5 separate regions of the Homo sapiens genome follow, and regions 1, 2, 3 and 4 are each linked to region 5. The links are contacts of gene promoters, found by promoter capture Hi-C in human tissues and cell types (Jung and others, 2019). All regions are on one chromosome and are shown on one strand. The core of a region is centred on a gene start or on the middle of the fragment in contact, and the rest is flanking DNA. Distances in the headings are between cores, read along the strand shown.

Evidence for each region. The method cuts DNA at HindIII sites, captures the fragments that hold promoters and counts their contacts. A contact is called where the count stands out against the background at its distance.
Region 1: a contact is called between a fragment that was not itself captured here and the fragment with the promoter of SNAI1 in region 5, in 2 of the 25 tissues and cell types used here (mesenchymal stem cells and spleen).
Region 2: a contact is called between a fragment that was not itself captured here and the fragment with the promoter of SNAI1 in region 5, in 3 of the 25 tissues and cell types used here (hippocampus, lymphoblastoid cells and mesenchymal stem cells).
Region 3: a contact is called between a fragment that was not itself captured here and the fragment with the promoter of SNAI1 in region 5, in 1 of the 25 tissues and cell types used here (spleen).
Region 4: a fragment that was not itself captured here is called in contact with the fragment with the promoter of SNAI1 in region 5 in 1 of the 25 tissues and cell types used here (IMR-90 fibroblasts).

The regions. Positions count from the first base shown.
Region 1 is chr20:50,921,640-50,924,339 of GRCh38, reverse strand. All of the region lies in intron 2 of ADNP (activity dependent neuroprotector homeobox), which reads left to right. Among named protein-coding and RNA genes, the nearest start is that of ADNP-AS1, 8.0 kb to the left of the region's middle. The HindIII fragment of the contact is 7,393 bases long and covers 1-2,700 here.
Region 2 is chr20:50,512,263-50,514,962 of GRCh38, reverse strand. The region is part of intron 1 of PTPN1 (protein tyrosine phosphatase non-receptor type 1); the gene reads right to left. Among named protein-coding and RNA genes, the nearest start is that of PTPN1, 3.2 kb to the right of the region's middle. The HindIII fragment of the contact is 4,243 bases long and covers 1-2,700 here.
Region 3 is chr20:50,555,429-50,558,128 of GRCh38, reverse strand. The region is part of intron 1 of PTPN1 (protein tyrosine phosphatase non-receptor type 1); the gene reads right to left. It also overlaps the pseudogene RN7SL672P. Among named protein-coding and RNA genes, the nearest start is that of MIR645, 29 kb to the left of the region's middle. The HindIII fragment of the contact is 3,936 bases long and covers 1-2,700 here.
Region 4 is chr20:50,534,826-50,537,525 of GRCh38, reverse strand. All of the region lies in intron 1 of PTPN1 (protein tyrosine phosphatase non-receptor type 1), which reads right to left. Among named protein-coding and RNA genes, the nearest start is that of PTPN1, 26 kb to the right of the region's middle. The HindIII fragment of the contact is 4,043 bases long and covers 1-2,700 here.
Region 5 is chr20:49,981,721-49,984,420 of GRCh38, reverse strand. SNAI1 (snail family transcriptional repressor 1) reads right to left here and starts at 1,441. Exons shown (of 3, transcript NM_005985.4): 1 at 1,280-1,441; 2 at 70-597. The coding sequence starts at 1,361. RefSeq lists a silencer at 1,427-1,946 and an enhancer at 2,099-2,700. The HindIII fragment of the contact is 23,979 bases long and covers 1-2,700 here.

The DNA.
Region 1 (2,700 bases), core at 81-2,580, 940 kb before region 5:
TAGCCACACCCCCAGCAGGGAGAGTATGGGTGTAAATTGTGCAGGTGGCAGTTAATTGGAGTAGCATATTTCTGCTGGGAAGTTAACTGTATAAGAATCTAAAAAGAAACGTTGTTTATGTTCCCTTTTCTTTTCCCAGTTTTTTAGTTTAAGACAGTCAGTCTGTCCTGAGCAGTTACTTTTTTCTTAGATAATTGCTGGCTTTTACCCTTTCTTTTTCTGAATCCTTCATGCTCCATTTAAGAGCTTGTGGAAACCTGTGCTTCAGTTGACAATCTGTAAAGCTCTGCTCTTCTGGTGGAAGCTCATGACCTGAGAACCTTTTGAGTGGTCTCTTTTGAGAAACTCCTGTCTAGTGGAAATATGGTGGAATTTATTAAAATTTTCAATTCGAATTATAAATTTAGGTTGACAGAATCCTTGCTCTTGTGAAAGAAGTGAGCTGAGACTGGGAGTATCCAAATGCAAGAAGTGCTCAGAATCCTGCTTCAAGATCAGTTACACTTAAAAACAGCAACAAGAGGATGGGTGCGGTGGCTTACATCTGTAATCCCAGCACTTTGGGAAGCCAAGGCTGGCGGGTCACCTGAGGTCAGGAGTTCAAGACCAGCCTGGCCAACATGGTGAAACCCCATCTCTACTAAAAATACAAAAGTTATCCTGGTGTGGTGGCACTCACATGTAGTCTCAGCTACTTGGGAGGCTGAGGCAGGAGAATCACTTGAACCTGGGAGGCGGAGGTTGCAGTGAGCCAAGATGGCACCACTGCACTCTAGCCTGGGTGACAGAGTGAGACTCAGTCTCAAAAAAAAATAAAAATAAAAAACAGCAACCAAAAAAAATGCAAATAAAACTTCTCTGAGGAAAGTGTGAAAACTTGAGCCATCAAGTGGCAAAACCTGGTACAAGAACGCTTTTGAAAAGCTACCTTCGGTGAAGCCTTGATCCTGGGAAATGGCTTCGAAAAACTTGAGAACATAGTTTAAATATTCTGTTACTCAAGAATAGTGAAAGAAATATATTTCCTATTGTGGGAAATTATTTCTGAGTAGTTTCGGTAGAGCATAAAAATGTATTATTAGGGGATCAAAATAACGTTTTATGTCATTTAGATACAAAGACTTGGCATGCTTCTGAAATAATTTATAAATGGACATATCTGCGTGTCCTCTTGTGGTGTTGTGATACATACTGGTTTTCATCCACCACGGTTCCTGGCTCATAACACCCATAACCCCATTACCGTGTTTTGTTATAATATAGGGTACGTTAGGTCTCAGAAAATAATCTCTGATCTTCTCCTGCTCTCCTTACACGTGTCCCAAGGCAAGATTCTGATCTTTACCCAGCTTTCTGATTGTAGGTCTTGAGATCCTCTCTAGAGAGAGGGTGTTGGCCCTATACCCCGGGGAAGGGAAGTAAGGTTTCCTATATGAAGCTTTTATAAAAACCCAGGAGGGCCAGGCGCGGTGGCTCACGCCTGTAATCCCAGCATTTTGGGAGGCTGGGGGCGAGCAAATCACAAGTTTAGGAGTTTGAGACCAGCCTGGCCATCGTGGTGAAACCCCATCTCTACTAAAAATACAAAAAAAATTAGCTGGGTTTAGTGGTGGGGGCCTATAATCCCAGCTACTCAGGAGGCTGAGGCTGGAGAATTGCTCAAACCCGGGAGGCAGAGGTTACAGTGAGGCGAGATTGCACCACTGCACTCCAGCCTGGGGGACAGAGTGAGATTCTGTCTTTAAAAAAAAAAAAAAAAAACGCAGGAGGACTGGGTTCAGAGAGCTTCCAGATAGTTGAACACACCTGGAGGGTGGCGCCCCCAGAGAGGGTATGGAAGCCCAGTGCCCTTACGCATTTCTTTATCTGTACTTTTTATAATAAACCGGTAAACATAAGTGTTTCCCCAAGTTTTGTGAGATGCTCCAGCAAATTAATAGAACTCAAGGAGGGGGTCTTGGGAACCCCAGCTTGAAGTGTCAGTCAGAAGTTCTGGAGGCCCAGACTTACAGTTGGAGTCTGAAGAAGGAGAGAGCAGTTTTGGGGACTGAGCCCCCATCTTGTGGAATATGACACTGTATCCAGGTAGACAGTGTCAGAACCAAATTAGAGGATACTCAGCTGGTGTCCGCTGCTTGGGAAAAAACCCTACACGTTTGGTCACAGAAGACAACTTCACGACTTCTGTGTGGTGTGAGGGCAGAGGAAAAACAAAGTTTGAGAGTTTTCCCCTAAAGCACCCCTTAAGGGCTACTTGTGAATTATTTCCCTTTTTCACATTGATCTTAAGCCAGATTGTCCACTTACAGCGACAGCAAGTGGCTGTATGCCTGTGGAGTTCTTATGTAGGCAGTGGAGTGCTAGAATCACTCTTTATGCTGTGTCCCTGCCTTGCTGCAATACCTGTTTAGAGTGAAGTAAACTGGGAAGTGCTCCTCACCTCACACTCTCCCTAAATCTAAATTGGTATATTATAAAGTATCCTCAGTCTGTTTTTCTTGTTTAAGTACCGAGGCATCTTCCCCCGCTTTCAAATACAATTTTAGGTGAACTCTTAAATTGATGAAGGGTCGGGGGGCCAGACCTCTGGCTGCCCAGCTTTCACCTTGTCCCTCAGGCATCATCTTCCCTCTGTTTGTATACATATCTTAAACTCTTAGAGGAGTTCAGCCTGAAAACAACTGGTTCTACTGGTGTACT
Region 2 (2,700 bases), core at 20-2,519, 530 kb before region 5:
GTGGTGGAAAGGATGCCATAGTGACCAACCAGTGAAATGTGGCAGAGGGAATCACCAACTACTCCAAAGTCCCCAGCCCTCCTGGATACTCAAAATGTGAACATGGAATGGCTGGTGCCAAACTACATCATCTGGGAACAATGACCCAGCTAGAATTCCAATTTTCCTGAATATGGGCAGCATAAAGTAACATGCCCAGCCGATTTGCCAGTATTAGTTGTTACCAGAAACAAATCAGCATAAACACTGTAGGGAGGAATGCCAAATTGTGCAAAATATATATAGGCTCAGGCAGGCCTCAGAAAAAGTACCTGCTCACGCCTGCAATCCCAACTTCAGGAGGCCAAGGTGGGAGGATCGCTTGAAGCCAGGAGTTCAAGACCAACCTGGGCAACACAGCAAAACCCCATTTCTATTTAAAAGAAAGAAAGAAAGAAAAAGCAGTGCTAGGAACAGAAATTGCCAAAAGGATTCTGTAATCTACAAGATCACAAGACAGTTTTCTTTAACAAAGAGAAAAGGGAAAGAATCACACAACAAAAGGCCGTTATTTCAGTAGCTAAGTCAAAAAACCTCCACAGGAAATTTCTTATTCATTTCCACTGTGAAATTCAGTACACATTCAATTACATTATTCAATACCAGGTATTTTAATAGGTTTTGAGGAGCTATTCAAGATAAAATGCAAAATGGAGGAGAAGTAACGGCAGATAACTTGCAGCTAAGAAACAGCGGCATTACCATTATCCCCCAGCTGACTTTTTAGAACCACTGGTTGGTTTACTTACTTCCAAAAACACCAAAGTATTCCTATAAATATGCCAGTGATGTCAAATAACAATAGCAAAAAGTTCTTTCCTTCACTATTTCTACTTGTGCTCCCAGTTAATCTAATATCAGTCCAGACAATTACAAAGGCATTTACACCATTTCCAAAGTACTGATCAGACACCTAAATTTAGTTCACTCAAACCAGGGCTAAACAAGAACATTTAGATCTAATGGGTCACTCAAGATGACTAGAACTTCCCAGTCTCTCCATGTCATTTCCGTTAGTCTTTTTTTTTTTAAGTGAAGTGAGTCATAGTGTATAGATCTTTCTCCTTTGCATAAAATAGTTTTTTTTCCTCTGAAGAAAATAGTATTTAAATAAACATTATTGGCAAATTTTAATATTCATCTTTTTGGAATATAACAACATAAGCTGTATATCAGTAAGGAATTTTAGTGAACTATTGTTACAACATGGTTTTAACCTAGTCAGGCATTAGATTGTATTTCATAATGAAAACAGCTATAAAAACAAATGTCAATTGGAAGAGTGGCCCATTTTACAAAGCCTGCCTCTAACATGAATAAATCTTGCCTTCATGTCACAAGGTATTATTGCAGTCCCCTTTATCTGAAACAATCAAATCATTCACAATGAAATATAGTGAGTGGTGTCAGAGAATCAAAGAATTTACAGACGAGAAAACAAGCAAAACACCGGACCCAACCCCTCTTAAACTACAGATGGAGGGGAGCACATGAGCTATTCTTTTCATTCACTCAACCCTCTCTCCTCTCATTCTAGCTCAGTAAAATCAATCTCTTTTCCTCATCTGGGCTCATTCTCTCCTCTTAGACAGCTAGGCCCAATCAAGCAACCGGATGATTTGAAAGTGTTTAAATGCTAGAAAACAATGTTTAAAGCCATCTATATACACTATCAAAGCTGACTTTTTATAGACCTAGATGCTTATTAGCATCTATGCTATTCATTAGCATTAAAGATTAAAAATACGGTTATGCTCACTTTATCAAACTGACCTAGCAAAGAATCTCTGCCTAAAAAGTTTGTTTTCCAAGCTGCCACATTCCTCAGCACTCAAAAGTCCTCTTCACTCTTTGTTCTTTTCCCAATAGTTTTCAAGTTTTTACATCTTTTTGTTCTAATCAGAAAATAAGTTAGAATAACTGACCTGCTTACCAAGTTGTAAGCAAAAATTACATTATTCTCTGATCACAATAGGCTAGGCAAGCTCAAAGTATGACTTTGTATAAGGCTGCCCTCATTTCAACATGCTATAAAGTATTAATTTTTTTAAACTTCCATTTTCTATCAATTGTAAACACATTCTTTGAATCCTTGAAAAATAATGGTTTTGGTAAAGCGATACACACCTTGGAAAGTTAGCCACTTTAGACTCAAGGTCATCTGAACTCTGTTTCAGAAAACGCTACAGTTGTATGACAAAGAGCTACTTTTACACTTAGGAGAAAAGCTTCTGATTTCAAGATCTTAGAAAAGAAAAATATCCATACAGTGGAGGTGAGAAAAGCTGGCCCTGACAATTCTCTAAGACCAAAAGAAACTACCTCAGGGAATGTGGCAATCCATTAAGAAGCAGTGAAAATCTCAACACCTTGACTAACTTGTGGGGTTTAATTGTGGCAGAAAAACTTAAGAACAATGAAGGAAATGAATTGAAGACTGACACACTCCATGCTAGTTGCATGCTGAATACAATTTTAACCATGCTTGGGTGACAGGTCAACCCACTCTGGCTTAAAATTGTAAGAAATAAAATTCAACTAAGAACTAAGTTACAATACGTATTTCTTGTTGTCAACTCAGTCAATTTCAGTGGAAAAGACTTCTCTCCACAATGCTTCCACTGTGATGGGGTGTATCATAATCAACTCCAACACTTCAGA
Region 3 (2,700 bases), core at 107-2,606, 570 kb before region 5:
GTGTGGTGGCATGCGTCTATAATCCCAGCTACTTGGGAAGCTGAGGCAGGAGGCTCACTTGAGCTGAGAAGTTTGAGATGAGTCTGGACAACATGGCAAAACCCCACCTCTACAAAAAACACAAAAATTAACCTGGTGTGGTGGCAAGTGTCTGTAGTCTCAGCTACGCGGGAGGCTTAGGTGGGAGGACTGCTTGAGCCCGGGAGGACTGCTTGAGCCCAGGAGTCCTGGGCTGCATGCGTTATGCCGATCGGGTGTCCGCACTAAGTTTGGCATCAATATGCTGACCTCCCGGGAATGGGGGACCACCAGGTTGCCTAAGAAGGGGTGAACTGGTCCAGGTTGGAAATGGAGCAGGTGGAAATTCCTGTACTGATCAGCAGTGGGATCATGCCCGCGAAGAGCCACTGAACTCTAGCCTGGGCAATATAGTAAGACCCCATCTCTTTAAAAAACAAAATAGGAAAAAAATTAAAAAGTCAATTATTAACAACAGAAATAATGTTTAAAAAAGAAACACAGTACAGTACAGTACAATACTATCTGTGACTATGTGCAGAGGCAAATAATGTAAACAATGAGTACTGATTTAACCAAAAGGTAAAACATTGGGAAAATGGGGGCGGTGAAGCAGAGGGGAGGAAAAGAAAGGGGATGGCTGTTTAAGAAAACTAAATCATCCACCTTAATAATGGTCTCGAATAATGTATCAAAAGATAAACATTTTGAGCTGGGCATGGTGGTATGTGCCTGTAGCGTAGTCTCAGCTACCTGAGAGGCGGAGGCAGGAAGACTGCTTGAGCCCAGGAGTTCGAGGCTACAGTGAGCTACGATGGTGCCACTGTACTCCAGCCTGGGCGACAGAGTTAAGACCCTGTCTCTGAAAAATAATAAAAAGAATTTATAAATTTAAAAAAGATAAACATTTTGCTTAGAAATATGGAGATATATACAAGCTGTAATCAATCAGCAGAACAAAGATTGGGAGTGGTGGTCAATGAGAAAGACCAGAGAAATGGTCTGAGGTGGGGACAGCAAACCACCATATTTTATTTTATTTTTTAAAAGATGGGGTTTTGCTCTTGTTGCCCAGGCTATTAATTTCATCTGCTTCTTTTGACCTTTTCTACTATGGCTACAAGAAAATGTAAAGTCATGTATGTGGGTTGTATTATATGTCTATTGGACAGCACTCACTGATCTTGTGGAAAATTGTTCTGAAATAATGCGATATCGGCTCACCACAACCTCTGCCTCCCGGGTTGAAGCAATTCTCCTGCCTCAGCCTCCCAAGTAGCTGGGATTACAGGCATGCACCACCATGCCCAGCTAATTTTGTATTTTAGTAGTTTCACCATGTAGGTCAGACTGGTCTCAAACTCCTGACTTCAGGTGATCCACCTGCCTCAGCCTCCCAAGGTGCTGGGATTACAAGTGTGAGCCACGACACCCAGCCAAACCACTGGATTTTATCATAAACCGATTACGGTACTATTTGACTCCTTGAGTCATGTGCATATTCAATTTGGATTTAAAAAATGTCCACATTCTGCTATTCTGCTTACTTATTTATAAAACTGTAAAAGGGCAGGTAAGAGTTTTTGACTCATACTAGAGAACAACTAATAACAGAATGATGGAGCTCGAGTGGTGGTTCACATCTGTAATCCCAGCACTTTGGGAGCCGAGGTGGGAGGATTGTTTGAGCCCAGGAGTTCAAGATCAGCCTTGGGCAAAAAAATGATGCCTCGTCTCTACAATACATTTAAAAAAATAGCCGGGTGTGGTGGCGTGCACCTGTGCTTCCATCTACACAAGGGGTTGAGGCAGGAAGATCACTTGAGCCCAGGAGATTGAATCTGCAGTGACCCATAAACACATCACTGCACTCTAGCCTCTCCAGCCTGGGCAGCAGAGTGAGACCCTGTCTCAAAACCAAAAACAAACCCACACAAAAAAACAACAGCATGATGACAGATTACAAACCTACCTAAGAGTAAATAAATTAATCCAATAGTAACACATCCACTGCATCACTTACAGATGAGATTAAGCTTTCAGGGAAATGCTATACAGCACAGAAAAAAAAAAAAAGACCTGAAAAAGTAAAAATCTAAGTCTTAAATTTGTTATTCTACGTATCATTTGGAAGCATTCAGCAGTGAGTACAAATTCTGCCCTTGAAGTGAAAAACAATCTGGTCAGTCCAGCTGGTGTGACTGGATGAAGATGTAAGAAATATCTGATACAGATAAACCACTCAGCTAACGAATATTTACCCGGAGCAAATAAGGGCCGAAATAACAGTTGCAACTGATTTTATTCAGCCAAAAGGATTATGCATATGTACTTTTTTTGGTGTGTGTGTGTGCATGCCTGAGAGACAGAGAAATAAAAAAAAAAAAATAGAGGTAAGAAGCAAAACGTGGAGATGTCATTTAATAAAGACATTGGGAAAATAAAAGGTATCTACATAATACTTTTTAAAAAACAGATTTTAAAATTAAGGTATACTCAGAGTAAAATGCAAAGATCTTAAGTATGTACTTGAATACATTTTTAAAACTGCTTTTGAGGTATATTTTACAAATAATAAAACATACCCACTTAAGTGTTCAGTGAGTTTTAAGCAATGTCTACAACCATTTAACTATCAATGCAACCAAGATACAAAACATTTCCATCACCCCAAAAAGTTCA
Region 4 (2,700 bases), core at 99-2,598, 550 kb before region 5:
TGCATACACACGTGGATACGAGTAACACTGGGGAAATATGAATAAGATGAGCAGACTGTATCAATGTCAGTATTGTGGTTGTGATACTGTACTGCAGTTCTGCAAAATGTTATGGGCAGTGGATGGGGGAACTAGGCAAAGCGCACATGGGATCTCTCTGTTTTATTTTTAAAGTTTATTTATTATTATTATTATTATTTTTGAGATGCAGTCTTGCTCTTGTTGCCCAGGCTGGAGTGGAATGGTACCATCTCGGCTCACTGCAACCTCTGCCTCCGGAGTTCAAACGATTCTCCTGCCTCAGCCTCCCAACTAGCTGGGATTACAGGTGCCCGCCACCACACCCAGCTAATTTTTGTATTTTTAGTAGAGACAGGGTTTCGCCATGTTGGCCAGTCTGGTCTCAAACTCCTGACCTCATGATCTGCCTGCCTCGGCCTCCCAAAGTGCTGGGATTACAGGCGTGAGCCACCGCGCTCAGCTCTGTATTATTTCTTTCAACTGCACAGGAATCTACAATTATGTCAACAACAATTTTAACTAAAATATATGATTGGCAAAATATAGATCAAAATGTTTAGAGTGCTTATAAGCTGCAGTGATAGGAATAAAGAAAAATTTTACTTTTTTTGTTTTCTACAGTAAACATGAAATATAGCATAAAAATAGAAAAGTAAGTATTTCTTAACAAGAGGTAAAAAGATATAATCAAGACTTGGGACATGTAAAAAATATTTTATAAAATCTCAAGGAATATAAGTAAAGGGAATACAGGACTGTTCAACAAATTACAGGATTCTAAGTTATTAAAAACATCCTTAAAATTAAAAAAATCTGGGTAAACAAAGGGGAGGGCCTATGTATAGTGGTAAAACATTAACTTAAGGAAATGGTATGTCAGGAGGCGATGTGCTCTAGGGACCAATGTTCTGGCCACACGCCTTCCCTGTGTTCTTTAGAATTGCTAAGCCACTTCTAATCACATCATTCTTTAAGCCTTGCTTAAGTGCCCAAGGACCACTTCAAACAAGCTCAAAGCTCCTTTGTAAACACTTGCATTGCATCTTTTATTTTTCTTTCCCAGCACTCCTCCACAATTAAAATTAATCATTTGTGTGACTGTTTCAGGTTGGTCTTCCTCTTATAATTATAAAAGAGGCCATTGGTACACGTTTCTGATCAGCACACCGCCTGGCAACTGCATTCACGGAATACATTTTTAAATGAAGTAAGCGCCAACATAAATTATATGAATATACAGATGGCTATCACACTGCCTTATAGGGAAAAGTAAGACTCTTCTGTTCAAGAATAACTGTTAGGTAGGTAGATGACTCTCAAGAGCTGAGTCTTCAATAAGGCTTTATTTAATTTCACAAACATTTCTGAAGGATTTATGGAGGTATCCCATCTTATGTGGTGACTAAATCCTACAGTTAGATATGAGGTAAAATTTGCACACAATCAAAATTAACCTCAGGAAAACATACCTTAAATTGCCAGCATCTAAGCCTTACACATTTTAATGCCTAGATTTTAACCTCTTTTCTCTTTTCAACTGATACCTCCCTTTCCCCAGAGGATATCAAGGTGTGGTTTGATACTGGCAATGTAGTATTCAAGGAATTTCTTTCTCTCTATTTGGGGGTGGGGGACGGGGACCAGTACATATGGTTTAATTAAGGAAGGCTAAATGTATATACGACACAAGACCACAGGGTGACTGAACATTAGGTACTGAGGATACAAAGATGTGAAAGGCAATCCCCATGTTCCTATAGGGTTCACATTCTAGCTAAAAAGAAAGTAATGTATAAGCAACCAAATAAAAATATTAATTCATATAAAATGTCTAAGCATTAAAAAGGAAAAGCATGTTGCAAAATCCTATTTTGCCTGTCAGAAGCTAAACACTGTTCTTTCTAGCAGCTTGCTTTCTGTAACCAAATCCTAACTTTCCCCTAAGCAGATGGAGTCCTAAGGCGAATTAGGGCAAAGTTAACGTGGTCACGGAGGCAACAGAGAAAAGAGTATTCATAATAAAATATTTCCCATACTACAAAAAAGAGGGGATTCAATAGAAAGGACAGCTCAGTGTAGGAAGAGGGAGGCACGTGCTCCGCTGAGGCAGGGGCTGTGAATAGAATGGTGGGTGGCTCCGCAGGCAGAAGACACAGCATCAGTAAAGACAGAATGTGGAGCATGCGCTGCAGGTGTACGGGGACCTGGCCAGGAGATCAAGGGAGTGCCTTTATCCAGGCATGCCTTCAGCACCTGTGTTAGGAATCTGGAGGTAACACCCTCATCAATGGGGAATGGAAGTTTTCAAGTAGGACAGTGATACATAACATGTCCTCCCATGAAAGATACAGCAGAAAGGAAGGACCTGAACCAGCTGAAGGCGACTTTGAAGACCACAGATGAGAAGGGCCTGAACTAAGGCTTGGGAAGGAAGTGAAGGAAAGAGTTTCAGACATACATCCCAAGAATAAAATTGGGCCTGTAATTCCAGCACTTTGGGAGGCCAATGCAGGAGGACCGCCTGAAGGCAGGAGTTCCGCCTGAAGGCAGGAGTTCAAGGCCAGCCTGAGCAACAGTGAGACTCTGTCTCTATAAAAAATAAAAATAAAAAGTTAGCTGGGCATGGTAGCAAGAGCCTGTAGCCCCAGCTACTCCAGAGGCTGACGTGGGAGGATCATT
Region 5 (2,700 bases), core at 192-2,691:
AACAGCAAGCCCAGATTCACAAAAGCTGCCAGAGAGAGCAACGGTGGGGGCGCCTGGAGGGGCACGTACCAGTGTGGGTCCGGACATGGCCTTGTAGCAGCCAGGGCCTAGAGAAGGCCTTCCCGCAGGTTCCGCAGACGCAGGGCAGCGTGTGGCTTCGGATGTGCATCTTGAGGGCACCCAGGCTGAGGTATTCCTTGTTGCAGTATTTGCAGTTGAAGGCCTTTCGAGCCTGGAGATCCTTGGCCTCAGAGAGCTGGGCCAGCTGCTTGGGCACTTGGCCCAAGCCTGGGAAGGCAGCATAGGCCTCGGCCTCCAAGGAAGAGACTGAAGTAGAGGAGAAGGACGAAGGAGCCGGTGAGGGTGGGCTGGGGGGCTGGGAGCCTTTCCCACTGTCCTCATCTGACAGGGAGGTCAGCTCTGCCACCCTGGGACTCTCCTGGAGCCGAAGGGAGGCCCAGGCAATTGGCTGGGCTTGGGGCGCCAGGACAGAGTCCCAGATGAGCATTGGCAGCGAGGCGGTGGGGTTGAGGATCTCCGGAGGTGGGATGGCTGCCAGCAGGTGGGCCTGGTCGTAGGGCTGCTGGAAGGTAAACTCTGAGGGAGAAAAAGCAGAGTCAGGCGTTAATTAAATCATTCACTCAATCAACAAACATGAGCCCACCGCTGGCCAGGGGCTGGGTGGGGCCGATTCTCAATACATAATTAGATCAAAAAAATTATCCACAGGACAGACCAGGTTCCTGCCCTCCTCGCCCAGGTCACCCAATCTGAGTCTCTCACACGTAGGACCCCCAGTTGAAGGAGGTCATTTCCTGATCTCCCTCTCCTAAGTCCCCAGTCTCCAGCCTGAGGCCAGAACCCCATCATCCCAGCCCCGGAGCCACCACCCTGCCCCAATCCCCCTCCTCACACACATCTCGTCTCCCCACCCCTCCCCTCAACCCTCTGGACTCCGGACTCTCCCCAGCAGCGTCCAGAGGGCCCTCCTGACACAGGCCTCCTCTCCTTCCCCTCTTGCGGAGCTCCTCCGCCTCTCGCCGGCTACAAAGGCCCCCCAAGCTGAAGACCCCTGCCCTCTACACGGCACTCCCCCAACCACCCAGACAGATCCCCGGAACTGGGGACCCACTTGCCCGGTCTCCCGAGCCCGCAATGGTCCACAAAACATCCTGTGACTCGATCCTGGCTCAGGCAGGCCGCCTCCCTCAGGTGCCCCCCACGCAGCCTTCGCCTGTCTCCCCCAAACCTCCTGGAGCCCAGAACCCCTCCAACGCACCTGGATTAGAGTCCTGCAGCTCGCTGTAGTTAGGCTTCCGATTGGGGTCGGAGGGCTTCCTGACGAGGAAAGAGCGCGGCATAGTGGTCGAGGCACTGGGGTCGCCGATTCGCGCAGCAGTAGCGCAGAAGAACCACTCGCTAGGCCGTGCCGCGGCGCAATGAATGCAGCAGCGCCGCCAACTCCCTTAAGTACTCCGGGGGGGTGGTGGGGGGTGGGAGGGGCGGGGCCTTATCTGCCACGCCCCTTTGTCACCTCCGCGCCAATCGGAGGCTCGTCTCCGCCGAAGGCCACTCCCCGAGCAGGTGCGCCGGCTGCTGGCCGGGCTCGCGCCGCGTGGCGGTGAGAGCCCGGGCGGGGACTCCTCCGAGGCGGGGTTCGCTGGCGCAGCGCGGGTCGTCCCCGGTGCTGGGGCTGTCCGGGGCGGGACGTCGAGCGAAGCGAGGCCTCTGCGAGGTGGGACCCCGGCAGGACGCCGCGCGCCCACCGGCTCAGCGCCCGGTGGTCTGAGCGCTTCTGACGCCCCCTGGCGCTGCGCGCCGGCCGGGACACCTGACCTTCCGACGCCCGCCCCCGCCTCGGGCTTGGGAGGGGGCGGAAATTTCCTCCGCCCGGCTGGCGCCTGGAGAGCGTGGCATTGACGAGGGAAACGCACATCACTGGGGAGGAAGCGAGGAAAGGGACACCGCACGTGGCTCTCGGCGGCTTGAAATGCCACGGCCTTTTTGCAAAGCAGCCTGGCCCAGCTAGCCAAGAGCACCCGTTCCTTCCCTTATCCAGTGTTTACGGAGCGCCCAGCACGTGTGGGGCACTGTACCTGGGGCCAGGGCACAGCCCCGGACAGAACACTCAGAGCCTCTCCCGAAGGGTAGCTTCTGGTCCAGTGAGGGAGACAGACGAAGTAAACAGATAATTACAATGCAAAGGGAAGTGTGCTTTGGTGGGGGAGAGACGGGACGCGGCGACCGTTAAGAGGCGGGTCACCTGACAGGGGGTCGGGGTGACTTCCCAGAGGAAGTGAAGAATTATCAAGGGAAAAGGCCCGAGGGAAGAAGTGGCAACTGCTTCAGAGTAACTCCTAGAGAGCAGCTTCCAGGGATGGGGTGGGATGGGCATGCCCGGAGGGGTCAGATGTGCTGGGCCCCAGGGCCTCGTAGGAGTTTGGACTTTGCCTCAAGGGCACTGGGGAGCCACCGAAGGATTTTCAGCTGAGGAGGGACCTGGTTAGAGTTTCGTTGAAAAAGATCCCTGTAGGCTGGCGGGAGAAAGAAGGCATGGGCCGGGCGTGTCTCCTCACCCCGTGAAGATCCTCGATCCTGTGTCTAAAGGCTGTAACACGGCTCCATAGGGGCCCTGACTGAATGCATGTGGGGTGGGCCCAAGTGAGGGGCAGCTGCACCCCCACCCCAGCTTCCCTGGGA